Regions from separate parts of the Homo sapiens genome. Here region 2 is linked to region 1. The links are contacts of gene promoters, found by promoter capture Hi-C in human tissues and cell types (Jung and others, 2019). All regions are on one chromosome and are shown on one strand. The core of a region is centred on a gene start or on the middle of the fragment in contact, and the rest is flanking DNA. Distances in the headings are between cores, read along the strand shown.

Region 1 (6,303 bases), core at 492-2,991:
TGCCACAAGTTGTTTACAGGCATATCAAGATGTTGATGACCCCAGTTCTTAGGCAACTGGGTACAAACTGGAACGGGTGAAGCTAGTTCTTTCAGCCTAGTCACTTATGCCCAAGATCAGCCTTATCATTGTACAAATATATTAGTCAGAATAAGCTAACTCTTTGTATCAGTTATCTACTGCTGTGTAAGAAACCCAACCTAAAACTTAGTGGCTTACAGCAATATTCATTTTATTTGTTTATGTGTTCTGTGGGTCAACAGTTTGGACTATGTTTAGCTAGGTGGTTTTGCTAATCTTGCTTTGGGTTGCTTACAGAGTTGTGGTCATCCAGCAGCTTTTCTAAGACTAGACTTTCCATTATGGCCTTTTTCACGTCTTGCCCTTGGTGCTGGTGGATGATTGGGCCATAGTTGTCAGTGGGCTAGCCTAAGCTTCTTTACTTTGTGGAAGAAGAATTCTCAGCAGCAAAACAGGCTAAGCCTTAATGCACAAACACCTTTCAAGCCCCTGCTTATCTCGTATTTGCTGATGTCCCAATGGCCAAAGCAAGTTACATAGCCAAAGACAGAGTCCATGTGGGAAGGAAGAATACAAGGGTGTGAACAGAGGAATGTGTGATTCATCAAAGGCCATACCTTTGATGAATTCAACAATTTACCATAATGTTACAAAAAAAAATCTTCCCAAATCTCAGCAGTTTACCACAACTAAGAATTATTTCTTACCCATGTCATATTCCAATGTGGGTTGGTGAGGACACTCTATCACACTCGTTCAGGGAATCGGGAACCTGTTATCTATCTAGTGGTTCCACCGTTGTCTAAGAACTTCCAGAAGACCAGGAAAGACAGAGAAGGGAAGATTCAAGGAAGGTGTTATAGACCAATCCTGGAAGTGGTATACATCAGTTCCAGCAACATTCCAATGGCCGGAACTCAGCCATGTGGCCCCCAGCTAACTGCAGGAGAGTTGGGAAATATAATGCCTAGGAAGAAAAGATACTTCTTGTCACCAAATATTCCGCCCCCTTCTTACCACACACAGAATACACATATACCCTCCCCAGACACCTGGAATTCTATCTAGTCACTGCATCCAGGATCTGTTGTTGATACACAGTCCTCTTTATTAGATCCAGATGTATATCCTCATTGCCAGGTAACTCATGAACTATGTAAATATGTACTACATACCTGCCCCCACTCAGCTACCCTGTGTAGCGTGATAGAGCAAGGGTGGCATACTTGCATTAAAATCTCCCATTCAGAAAAGGGAAGAATGCAAGACACACAACAGTGGCTCATTCTTTAGTATATGTATTTTTTATGATATTTTTCCAAATATTGCATGGGAAATATATACACTAAAAATTATTCGTTTATCTGAAATGCAAATTATTAAGCATTCTGTATTTTTATTTGCTAAATCTGGCAACCCTCCTCCCACTAAAATATAAACTCCATGAAGGTAGGAACCTTGGCTCTCTGGTTCTCCAATGTACATCGAAGGCGTGGCATAATGCCAGGTCCACAGTAGAAGCCCATACATGCTTACTGCAGGAATTAATGAAGGACTAAACGAAGTAGCAAGTGAGTGAATAAGAAGATGAGGAGCGACCCTTGGTGGGCGGCGCGGGAAGAGAACCGCACCATAGCTCCGCAGACAGCCTCCTTTAGGCGCGCAGCGGCGGCCGCGCTGAGGTCACGGGCGCCGGCCCTGGTGACGTCATTACGCCCGCGCTCCTCGCCTGGCCGTGATATCAATGGCGCAGGCTTCACTTCTGCTGTGGCGGTGACTGAGGCCTTTCTGGTGACCTCAGCCCAACACAGGCCGTCTCCGGAGCTTCCCGGTAGTGGCCCCGGATTCCCACGGTCTTTGTCATTGGCTGTCAGCTAGCAGGCCTGGCCGCTCCCGTGCGGAGAGACCATCTCTTCAGGGCAATGTCCAGGCCGAGCAGCGTCTCCCCGCGGCAGCCGGCTCCTGGCGGTGGCGGAGGCGGCGGCCCCTCGCCTTGTGGCCCTGGGGGCGGCGGCCGGGCCAAGGGGCTGAAGGACATTCGCATTGATGAGGAGGTGAAGATCGCAGTCAATATCGCGCTGGAGCGCTTCCGATACGGGGACCAGAGAGGTGAGGTTCCGGACAGGGACCATGCTGGCAGTCAGGATACCCCCCTCACCCCAGCGCCCCCCAAACGGCGGCCCACCGAGTGATGGGGGTGCCTCCGAAGAGGGAGGGAAGACCCGGGCCACCGTCCGGGGCGGGCCTCAGCGGCGGCACCCGGGTCTGGAACGCGGCTGTTGGCCCTGCGGTGGAATGCGAGGTGCTCTGCGGATCAATGGGGTTATGGGCACTTTGCTCCCTAGCTGAAAGTGTTTTTCCCCCGCGTCTTTCAGCAGCCTTGGGCGGTTAAGCCACCGTGTTTCAGATATTGGTTAGCCCTAACCCTTTTTAAGGGGGTGTCACCTAATTGTGGCACGTTTAAGCTACAGATGTAGAAGAGCAGAAAGAAATCAAACATATAAATAAATGCACCAGCAATACGTTTGGACCCTGAAGCATCACGCTACCCACTTAAATTAAACTTGTTTGGCACACGAAGCATCTTCCACACCTCTTGAGGTTAGATAGCCACTTGTCTTGGGTCATATAATGCAGAACCAGCAACTGACCTGCGGTGACCTGTGCAGTCTGTTGAGGGCTCATTCGGACCTGCTGGCTTAGTTAGGGGACCTCTTACTCTGGAATCTTATAGTCCAAAACGGGGAATGTTCTAGACAGAGAGATTCTAAATTCACATTAAAAAAAGAGAAAGCCTCAGCAATATATAACAAATCCCTCTGAAATAGTGAAATACGAATTCTGTACAGTTTTGAAAGCAAAGACAATGGAGTTTCATGTTGAGAATTCATAATATTTGAACATATCTCATCATTGAAGAAAATAAACATTTTGTTAACTAAACAAGTAGGGACCAAGTTAAATATGTTCAGTCATTATACCAACTCAAAATTCCAGAACAAGTAAGAGGAGTCGTTTTTGGTGAATATCAGAGGCCTTTATCACATTTAGGTTTAATACATAGCTGTCTTTTTATTAATATCAGAATTCTGATAGACATTCAGTAGTTATTGAATTAATAAAATATCTTAATTTTATTAATTTACATAAATAGAATATGAAATATAAAGTTAACCTCAAATAAAGTATAATAAATTTGATTGTCTATGTATGTTTTTCATATTTTGTATCTGTGTGTTTTACTTGAGAGAAAATTGCCTATCTACAAATTTTACTACTTTGTTTTTTTTCCGTGTAGAAATGGAATTTCCTTCTTCTTTGACCAGTACTGAAAGAGCCTTTATTCATCGACTCAGTCAGTCTCTTGGTTTGGTCTCTAAAAGTAAAGGGTAAGCTGGTAGCTTTTCTTATTTTTTTTAAAAAAGATTATTTGCCCAAAAAAGGGAGAAACGTTTCTGAGTACATTTAAGTACTTATTACTGTTTTAACTTCACATTCTTAATTGTATCATATGTAGATAAAAGATTCAGGTCTGTACCAAATTCAACTCTTTCCTCTTCCCTCTGTCTACCTCTTCCCCCCTTTTTTGTTTTGTTTTGTTTTTCCCTAGGAAAATGCTTTTTCTTCTACCCAGCTTAGGTTCCTTGGCTGGGACCCTGCAAATTAGACTGATAAAAGACATATTAACAAGAGAAAAACATAAGCTTATTAAGACATGCATCATGCATACATAGGGGAGAACTCGATAGTAACTCAAACATGGGGCTTATGTGGCATCTTAATAAAGAACAATGAATTTATTTAAAAAATGACAAGACAAAGGAAAAGGACTTTGAACTTGTAGGTGCAGTAAATTGTGGGAAGGTATATGTGGGGAAACTAATGGAAGATATGTGTTCTTTTAGCAAGGTTGGTTATGTAGGTTCCCCTGGTGCTGTCTCTATTAAGAGTCTAGAGTGGTTTCTCTTGTTAAGAATAGTCCTTCCCTTTCTGGTAAAGCAGGGGAAGGCGGAGTTTTTCTTATGTCTGCTTCTTCTCGATTGCCTTCAGCTCAAAATAATCCTTATGGCAGAGTGACATATTTTTGGGTGGCATACCGTGAACTCTTTCAAAGGTAAATTTTAAGATGTAAGAAAAAAATAGTTTAAAAGTTGAAGTTGATTGCTTGAGAAAAATATTTTTATTTTTTGATAGAAATCTCATTTGAAAAATGGATGTACAAAAGATAGTTGCAATTATTTATGGAACTTACTTCTTTTACTGTTACTGCAATATAATAATAAGCTTTAGAGCATATGTTCATTGTTTTCTTTCCTACCAAGTCAAGGATCTGATGATTAGAAATGATTTTAAAAAGTGGTACAGGAGGAAATTGTTTTGTTTTGTTGGGAGGATCACAGAGTTACATTGAGGGAAAAGTCATTTGAGCCATCCAAATTGAAAAACTCTAAAATTCTGTGGCGCTATTTCATTTTGTTAATAAGGATGGTGGGATCAATGTAAAGGAAGCTTTCTCACTGTTGGTGCTATTGACATTTTGGACTGGATAATTCTTTATTCTGTTTTGTGTACTGTAGGGTGTTTAACAGCATCCATAGCCATTACTACTACATGCCACTAACACTCCTAACCCCAGTTGTGACAACCAGAGATGCTTCTAGAGGTTGCCAAATGTCCTCTGGAGAGCAAAATTGCTCAGGTTGAGAACTACTGACATAGAGGGAAGAAAAGGATAAAATTTCAGCTTACCGGTATGTTTTTAGGTTAGGAAGAGGGAAAACAAAACTTTATTAAGTAAATATATTAATAAATATTCAGATGGTCCCAAAGTGAAAGCAGCTGATGTAGGAATGTCTTGCATATGACTGCCTACTACAGTGATAAATTACTGAGACACGGGATTTAGTTTAGGTGAATGTGCGTTTTGAACATCACTAAGGCCAGTGCTGGAACAGTGGTTAGATTCCTGAATGTGCCCATCTTATAGTCCACTAGGTAGGTAAAAATACTGCACCTGAAAATAAAAATATAGTTCAGTGCCACAATACTTTATCCAGAAACACTTGGGCTAAATATATTTGAGATTCAGATTTTTTAGACTTTAGAAAGGTATTTGGGTATATTTGCAATATGTTGTATAATCTACCTAATAAAATATGGCCATCACCTTTAGTCACATTTATATTTTTGCTGGAAATTCTATGAATATTCACACTGAGACTATTAATAACCTCATGTCAGTTTAATCACGTGATCACATTTGATGTCAAATGAGGTTACTGCAAACTTAAAAGTTTCCAGTTTTTGGCACTGTTTGGGTTTACTAGTTGCAGGTAAGAGGTTTTGGGCCTGTGCTTGGAAACACATGTTATAAATGTACAGTTCTGTAGCTACATCATTTCTATGGTTACATGGGTCTTGCATTCTAAACAGCTAACTTAGAAAAGCAGTCCATTAGAGTAGACTTCCTGTCCTTCTCTTCAGTAGCATAGTCATGTAAGAGCTGATCTGGAATGAATAGATATCTTGGGAAGGAGAATTCAAGAAGGAAGTTATGGAGACAAAAATGGGGAATGCGGAAACATTGAAGAGCCAGAGAAAGAAGAAAAAGGAAAGAGATGCTAAGGGAAGCAAGGCAATCCTGCCTATTTATCCAGTCCCTAATACCTATAACCTTAATGCTTTCAAACCTTCTTACGAAATACCCTAGCTCCTTCTCTCTTTTTTTCATCTTTGAGTAAACTTTGTACTATATTTTCTTAGTGGTCCTTGTGATTTTCAAATGCCTTTTCTTCTTTTCACAAAAAGAAAGAAATCACTTTGAATCTACTTCTCAAATCCTTTCTTTTCATTTGTATGAGAATTTGTACCTGACTTATCCATGAAATTTTCTGTTCACCCTTTGACTTTATTTTATTTTATTTTATTTTTTTGAGATGGAGTCTTGCTCTGTCACCCAGGCTGGAGTGCAGTGGTACAATCTCGGCTCACTGCAAGCTCCACCTCCCGGGTTCACGCCATTCTCCTGCCTCAGCCTCCCAAGTAGCTAGGACTACAGGCGCCCACCACCACGCCCGGCTAATTTTTTGTATTTTCAGTAGAGATGGGGTTTCACTGTGTTAGCCAGGATTGTCTAGATCTCCTGACCTCGTGATCTGCCCGCCTTGGCCTCCCAAAGTGCTGGGATTACAGGCGTGAGCCACTGCACCTGGCGTTTTTTTGTTTTTTTTTTTTTTTGGAGACAAGGTCTTGCTCTGTCACCCAGGCTTTAGTGCAGTGGAA
Region 2 (5,655 bases), core at 3,044-5,543, 1.7 Mb after region 1:
TATGATCTTGGTAGGTAGGGCAGAACCTTTATTTCCCTGCAGGGTACACAGTGAAATGATACACCATTTCTTTCCTAGGAAATGAGATATGTGGAGATCATCAGTTAGTTTGTCATTAGATATGGTAGAACCATATTGGATAACCAGTGTTCTCTTAACTAAGGTCCTGACTAGCTATTCACCCACTCCCTCCCCCCACTTCTCTCTCCATCAACCCCCACACTTTCACATTAGGTCAAAAATTCTTTGGGCGATGACAACTTCTATAGGTACAAGGAAAGTAGGGTTAAGAGAGAAATCTGCCTCTGATCAATACAGCTGCAGCATCATCATAAATAATTTAACCACTTACTCTGTTTTTAGTTTCTTTGATCTGCTTCTCTCATCTTGCCTGGTTGTGTTACTGCCACAAAAGTTTGCTCTTTGAGAGGATGAAGAACCTTCTAGTCATACCTCAGTCATCATCCTGGGGCAAAGGTCCACTTTGTATTACTCCTCCTGCCTCATGCCTCATAGCTAAGCATCAATGTTTTTTTACCATTCTGAAGGTTCCTGGGTGTTGCTTTGAAATGTTCTAAACCAGAAATAATGAGGTTTCTTATTAGGCTGACCCTAAGAGCTATCATCCTGTTGTTCTTTATTTATTTTAGAAGATTGCTTGTTATGTGGGTGTAGAGGGAGGCAAGCTAGAGAGAGGAAGAGGGATAATTTATAGGATCTCAGATTCAGTTCGAGTATTCCTTTTAGGGGCAGTGAGTGAGGAGATAGGGTATATTAGGAGGTAGTAATTAGTATAGTGTTGGCTACTGTCTGATGGACAAACATGTAGTTCATTGGCTCCAGCAAAATGATAAATCATATCGATTTTTCTATTTTGCCACTCACACATATTTTAAAAATCTTGTTGTGCCAGGGTTCCTCAATAAAAGGCACAGCTCTTATCTCCATTAAATTGAAATTTAAAATGTTAATAACACCAATATATGCTACCGACTTATTGATTAAACTGAGTATTTGGTAGAGCTTGAGCACTGTTGTTCTAGCTCTACCAAAAAGAGGAAAATATCTGGGAAGAAATTCACAGAATAGAAAAAAAGTGCTAAGAAAGGATTCTATACACATCACACCATAAAAATAACATTGACTTTGAGAAGCAGGAAGGACAAGTTCTTGGCAGAGAGGCTGGCATCTTTTCATCTGTCCCTAAATTACACACTGATCAGCCAATGCAAGGTGGGGAGCTATGATTTTTTTTTTTTTTTTTTTGAGATGGAGTCTCACTGTGTCACCTGGGCTGGAGTGCAGTGATGCGAACTCGGCTCACTGCAACCTCTGCCTCCCAGGTTCAAGCGATTCTCCTGCCTCAGCCTCCTGAGTAGCTGGGATCACAGGTGCATGCCACCACGCCTGGCTAATTTTTGTATTTTTACAAAAAATATATCTATTTCAGCATTTCACCAGCTTGCTAGGGGAGAACTTTGTGTTTCACAAGGCATTTGTTTACTCTTGAAAAGGAAAATTGTTGACATTTTCCTTCCAATATGCTTATCTTTAAAGATTTATAATATAAAATATTCTCTGTGTGATACATATTTATTTGAACTATTTGAATTTCCTATAATTCCAAAAGGAATTTTACCTTTCTTTTTCAGTATTCTATTAAGACAAATTTGGTTTACCCTTATGAAAAGAAACACTTTTTATTTAACTGTAAAAGTACTCATTGAGTAAGAGTAACAAGCTTTAAATAATTTGTTACATATTATCCCATTTTTTGGTTAATAATGAAACAAAAATGACTATCAAATATTAAGTGTTAATATCTAACACATATTTGAGTCCAAAAAGTGTTTACTCAATGAATAAATGAACAAATGAATAAATATACTTACTTTACAATGGGAGAAACTGAGGTCAAAAGAAAAGTATTAGCCACAATCTAGTATACTATAATCCAACTAAAAACTATCTAACTATCTAATTCAAGTATTGTTTTCCCTTGTTTTATTTAGAAGACAAATGAAAGCTTTAGTACTGAACATTTTGAAACAGAAACCCGAGAATAATGCCTTGCGGGGAGAAAAGCTTCAGATTAAAATTTCGGAATAAAAATAAGGAGAAAAATAATTTTACCCAAACACCACTTTGCCTTTCCTTTACTCGTAAATTCAAGAGTCTCAAATAACCATTTAAATACTGTGAAGTTAAAGAATTTTCTTAATTATAAATAAATTGTGCTTAAGGGAAACCTGGAAGCTTTAGTAAGTTTCTAATTTTTAAAATTATGTGCACCACCTTATTTATATTTTCTAAATGACTATTCCAAGTGGGAAATAAATACAGTAATACAGTTATGTCTTCACCTGCCAACCAACACCACAGTTATGGTCCAATGAACTGTATTTTATGGTATATAGGTTCAATATTCACTTTTCCTCCTTCTTTGTAACAGAACGTTGAGAAATGTGCCCAACTTAAAAAGAAAAGGAAAACTCCTTTTGCAGCTTGCTTTGCAGAAAGGGTTGACCAATGAGGTATCAATGGGAGTTTTTATGTCCAGCTTCTGGGAGAGCTCTTTTGCCCTCTCTTTCCTTTCCTTCTAACTGAAATACAGTTCTGATACGTGGCATCCAACCACCATCTTGGACTACTGAGGAGAACCTGAGGATAGAAGTCATTCACTAAAATGGCTGGAGAGGAAAGAGGGAAGAGCCTGAATCTAAGGATGGTGGAGCTTCCATTCCAACTGTTGACCACCTACCTTCTATCTTCATTTACTCCAGAGACAATTAAACTATAACTTGATTAATTGATTAAACCATGTTATTTGAGTTTTCTCTTACATACAACCAAGCCTAGTCACAACTAATATAGCCATGTTATAGCTGTGAGACTTTTAGCAACTCATTTCTCTATACCTCAGTTTACTCATCTGTAAAAATGGACCCAATAACAGTATTGACTCAGAGAGCTGTTATAAGGATTAAATGAGTTAATATATGTAAACAGCTTAGAATTGTAGCCAACACAGACTAAAGACTCAATGAATCCTCTATTGTTACTATTCACTTGTACCACCTATAATATAATACCTGCAGAATAAATGAGAAAAGGAGTATGAAGAGGAGAAATAACATTTGTTTCCCACCGCCTTCTTCAGAGATGAAAGACCTGGGTAAAGAGCATAACAGAACATGTAACACATCATCCTTCTCAATTAAAAGCACTTTGCAGATTACAGGTCATTCTGTAAAGATACTCGAGTTGTTCTAATCCTTACCAGAGCTCTGAGATGAGGGTGAAAGTTGAAACTTGCTTAAGTCAACAGGTCATTTGCTTGCTGGCTCAAGAGCTGGAGCCCCAAGTTCACTGTTCCAATAAAGGCCAAGTTGGCTTGGTTCTAGTTCATGACCCTAGGCACGACAGTATACTTAGCTTTGGTTAATTGTCCTCTGAATAGGATTCTAAATTTAAATCGTGTGGGAGAAGACATGAGGAGGTCTGAGCCATGCTCCTGAGAAGCTCCAGGCATCTTCCTTCTCCTGCTGTGACTGGCTCCACCTGCCAGCAGGTGTGTGGGGGTTGTAACTAAGCCTTTTTGTTTTTTAAAGGGAAATTTCCTGAATTTTTTCAAGGAATCTATTTTTTCCTCCAGCTAATTTATTTAAAAGCCTTCTGAGCCTTTGGGTCTTAACTTTAGGATGACTCCCCAGTGAGCTCTGTTCACATCTTAATATAATAATGATAACAGCTAATATTTTTTAAGCTCTCATTATAGGTGAGGTACCATTTTAAGTGCTTACTCATATCATCCTACTTAATCCTCACAAAACTCCGCAAAGTACTATTGTATTTGCCTTTTACAGATAATCACCCTGAGGCACAAACAGTGGAGTGACCTACTTACTCAAAGTCACTAGGAGGGGTGGTGGCAGAGCCAGGTGAGACCCCATGGTCCTAGCCACCACCCAGTACTCTTGTCTCATATTTAAAAACTCTCCACTATCTGCCTTTACTTTTCAAGCCTCAACCACTCGGAAGGGCCTGGGCGTGTTTCTTTGCTCAGGTGCCTTTGATTGTGGTCATATTTGAATCTTGTTATTCTACATGCCAGTCTTCCATTACTCACAAAAGATAATAAAATCCCTTAGGTGATGTCTTCCACTGCATCAGCTACCCAGGTTGTTCTGTAACCTCGAACTCCTGGGCTCAAGCACCCCTCCTGCCTCAGCCTTCTCACTCGTGGGGTATCCTTTTTCTTCCCCAAGCATTGTAAACTTATCCCTAGACTCCACTTTTTAAATCCTCGTCTGGACACTAGGGCCTTTTCATTGTGTTAGGGAGACTCAGAAAAGGAAAATGTTATAAAAGACCAGTTTTCCCTGATGGCTAAACAATTAGTGGCATAATTTACCAAAGAATTGTAGCCTGTGAGACACAAGATGCTGAATACAGCCAAGCAAATACTTTCTCTACTCTTCTTAGCTTAGGAAAGTGGATATGAAAGGAAGGATGTTAACTGTCTCAGGCTATGTCATGGGCATTTGCCTTTGACAGAAGGACCTCCTAGGATGAGGGGAGGTGGTGCTGACAGCAAGCAGAAGGAGAAGAGGACCCAACAGCTGGCTGCTCTTCATCCCTCAGAGAATGGCATGGAAAGAGAGCAAATAATTTCAAAATACATGGAAAAACATTTAGATAGCACAGGCAATTTATTTGGAACCTCCATATCAGGAAATTGCTTCTCTAATGCAGTGACTTACTACTGAAAAGAAAAAAGTCTCTCATGTTTGCAAAATGGGCTTTGTACAGTGCCTCACACTGAGACCTAGAGATCTAATGAGAATGTGGATTATTAAATTTCTCACAGGGAGGAAAGGGGCCCAGGAAGTGTCTCCCAGATCTGGTTCACAGCCTAAGGAAAAAAATGCTTATGCCTTACTATCAAAGGGTAGAAGAAAATAGCATTAATCTCCATTGTCCTGATTAATCACTCCTAAAGGTATAAACAGAAAGTTCAGGTCGGTTACCACCCTCCTAGGAGTGCCAGCATATTTTACAGTCCACAAAATCCGGCGCAAATCTCCCTTCCCCATTCATACCTCAGAGACAGAAGAGTAAGCCAAGTTATTTGAACTATGATTTTGCTATTCGTATATATCAAAGCGCTTTCATGTTCTCACAAAACTTGAGTTCCCGAAAGTAAGATTGATGCCCTGCCAGGAAAATTGGCTTTAAAGTAGTCCCACTACTGCTATTGAGTAAACCTTTCAGAAGAGCCCTCAAGGCTTAAGAAATCAGACATAGCAGAGCCCCTACAGAACTAAAACACATTTCCCCCTAACCAGGATTCACCTGCACTTCAGGCTGGGACTTTTTTCCTAGGGCTCAATACTCACCTCCTGCCTGGCGAGGTATCTTTCCTCCCAAGCTCCCTCAACACCTTTTACACATCTGTCGTGATACATAACTTCTTGTACTGAAATTGTCTATTGATACATTTGTCTCTCCCCAATTACACCACACTGTCCTTGAGCAGCAAACAGAATCTTTTTCAGTTTTATTAGGTTGGTGCAAAAGTAATTGCAGTTTTGCACTGCAATTACTTTTGCACCAACTTAATAGCTTCCCAGTGCTTACAATACATAGTAGGTG

What was found. The method cuts DNA at HindIII sites, captures the fragments that hold promoters and counts their contacts. A contact is called where the count stands out against the background at its distance.
Region 2: a fragment that was not itself captured here is called in contact with the fragment with the promoter of YTHDC2 in region 1 in 1 of the 25 tissues and cell types used here (small bowel).

What each region holds. Positions count from the first base shown.
Region 1 is chr5:113,511,953-113,518,255 of GRCh38, forward strand. YTHDC2 (YTH N6-methyladenosine RNA binding protein C2) reads left to right here and starts at 1,742. Exons shown (of 30, transcript NM_022828.5): 1 at 1,742-2,130; 2 at 3,320-3,410. The coding sequence starts at 1,944. LOC124901046 (a long non-coding RNA gene) reads right to left here and starts at 1,706. Exons shown (of 2, transcript XR_007058905.1): 1 at 1,479-1,706; 2 at 1-988. RefSeq lists enhancers at 1,498-1,547, 1,544-2,045 and a silencer at 1,998-2,227. The HindIII fragment of the contact is 6,758 bases long and covers 1-4,015 here.
Region 2 is chr5:115,186,529-115,192,183 of GRCh38, forward strand. No RefSeq gene overlaps it. Among named protein-coding and RNA genes, the nearest start is that of TRIM36, 19 kb to the left of the region's middle. The HindIII fragment of the contact is 4,821 bases long and covers 1,884-5,655 here.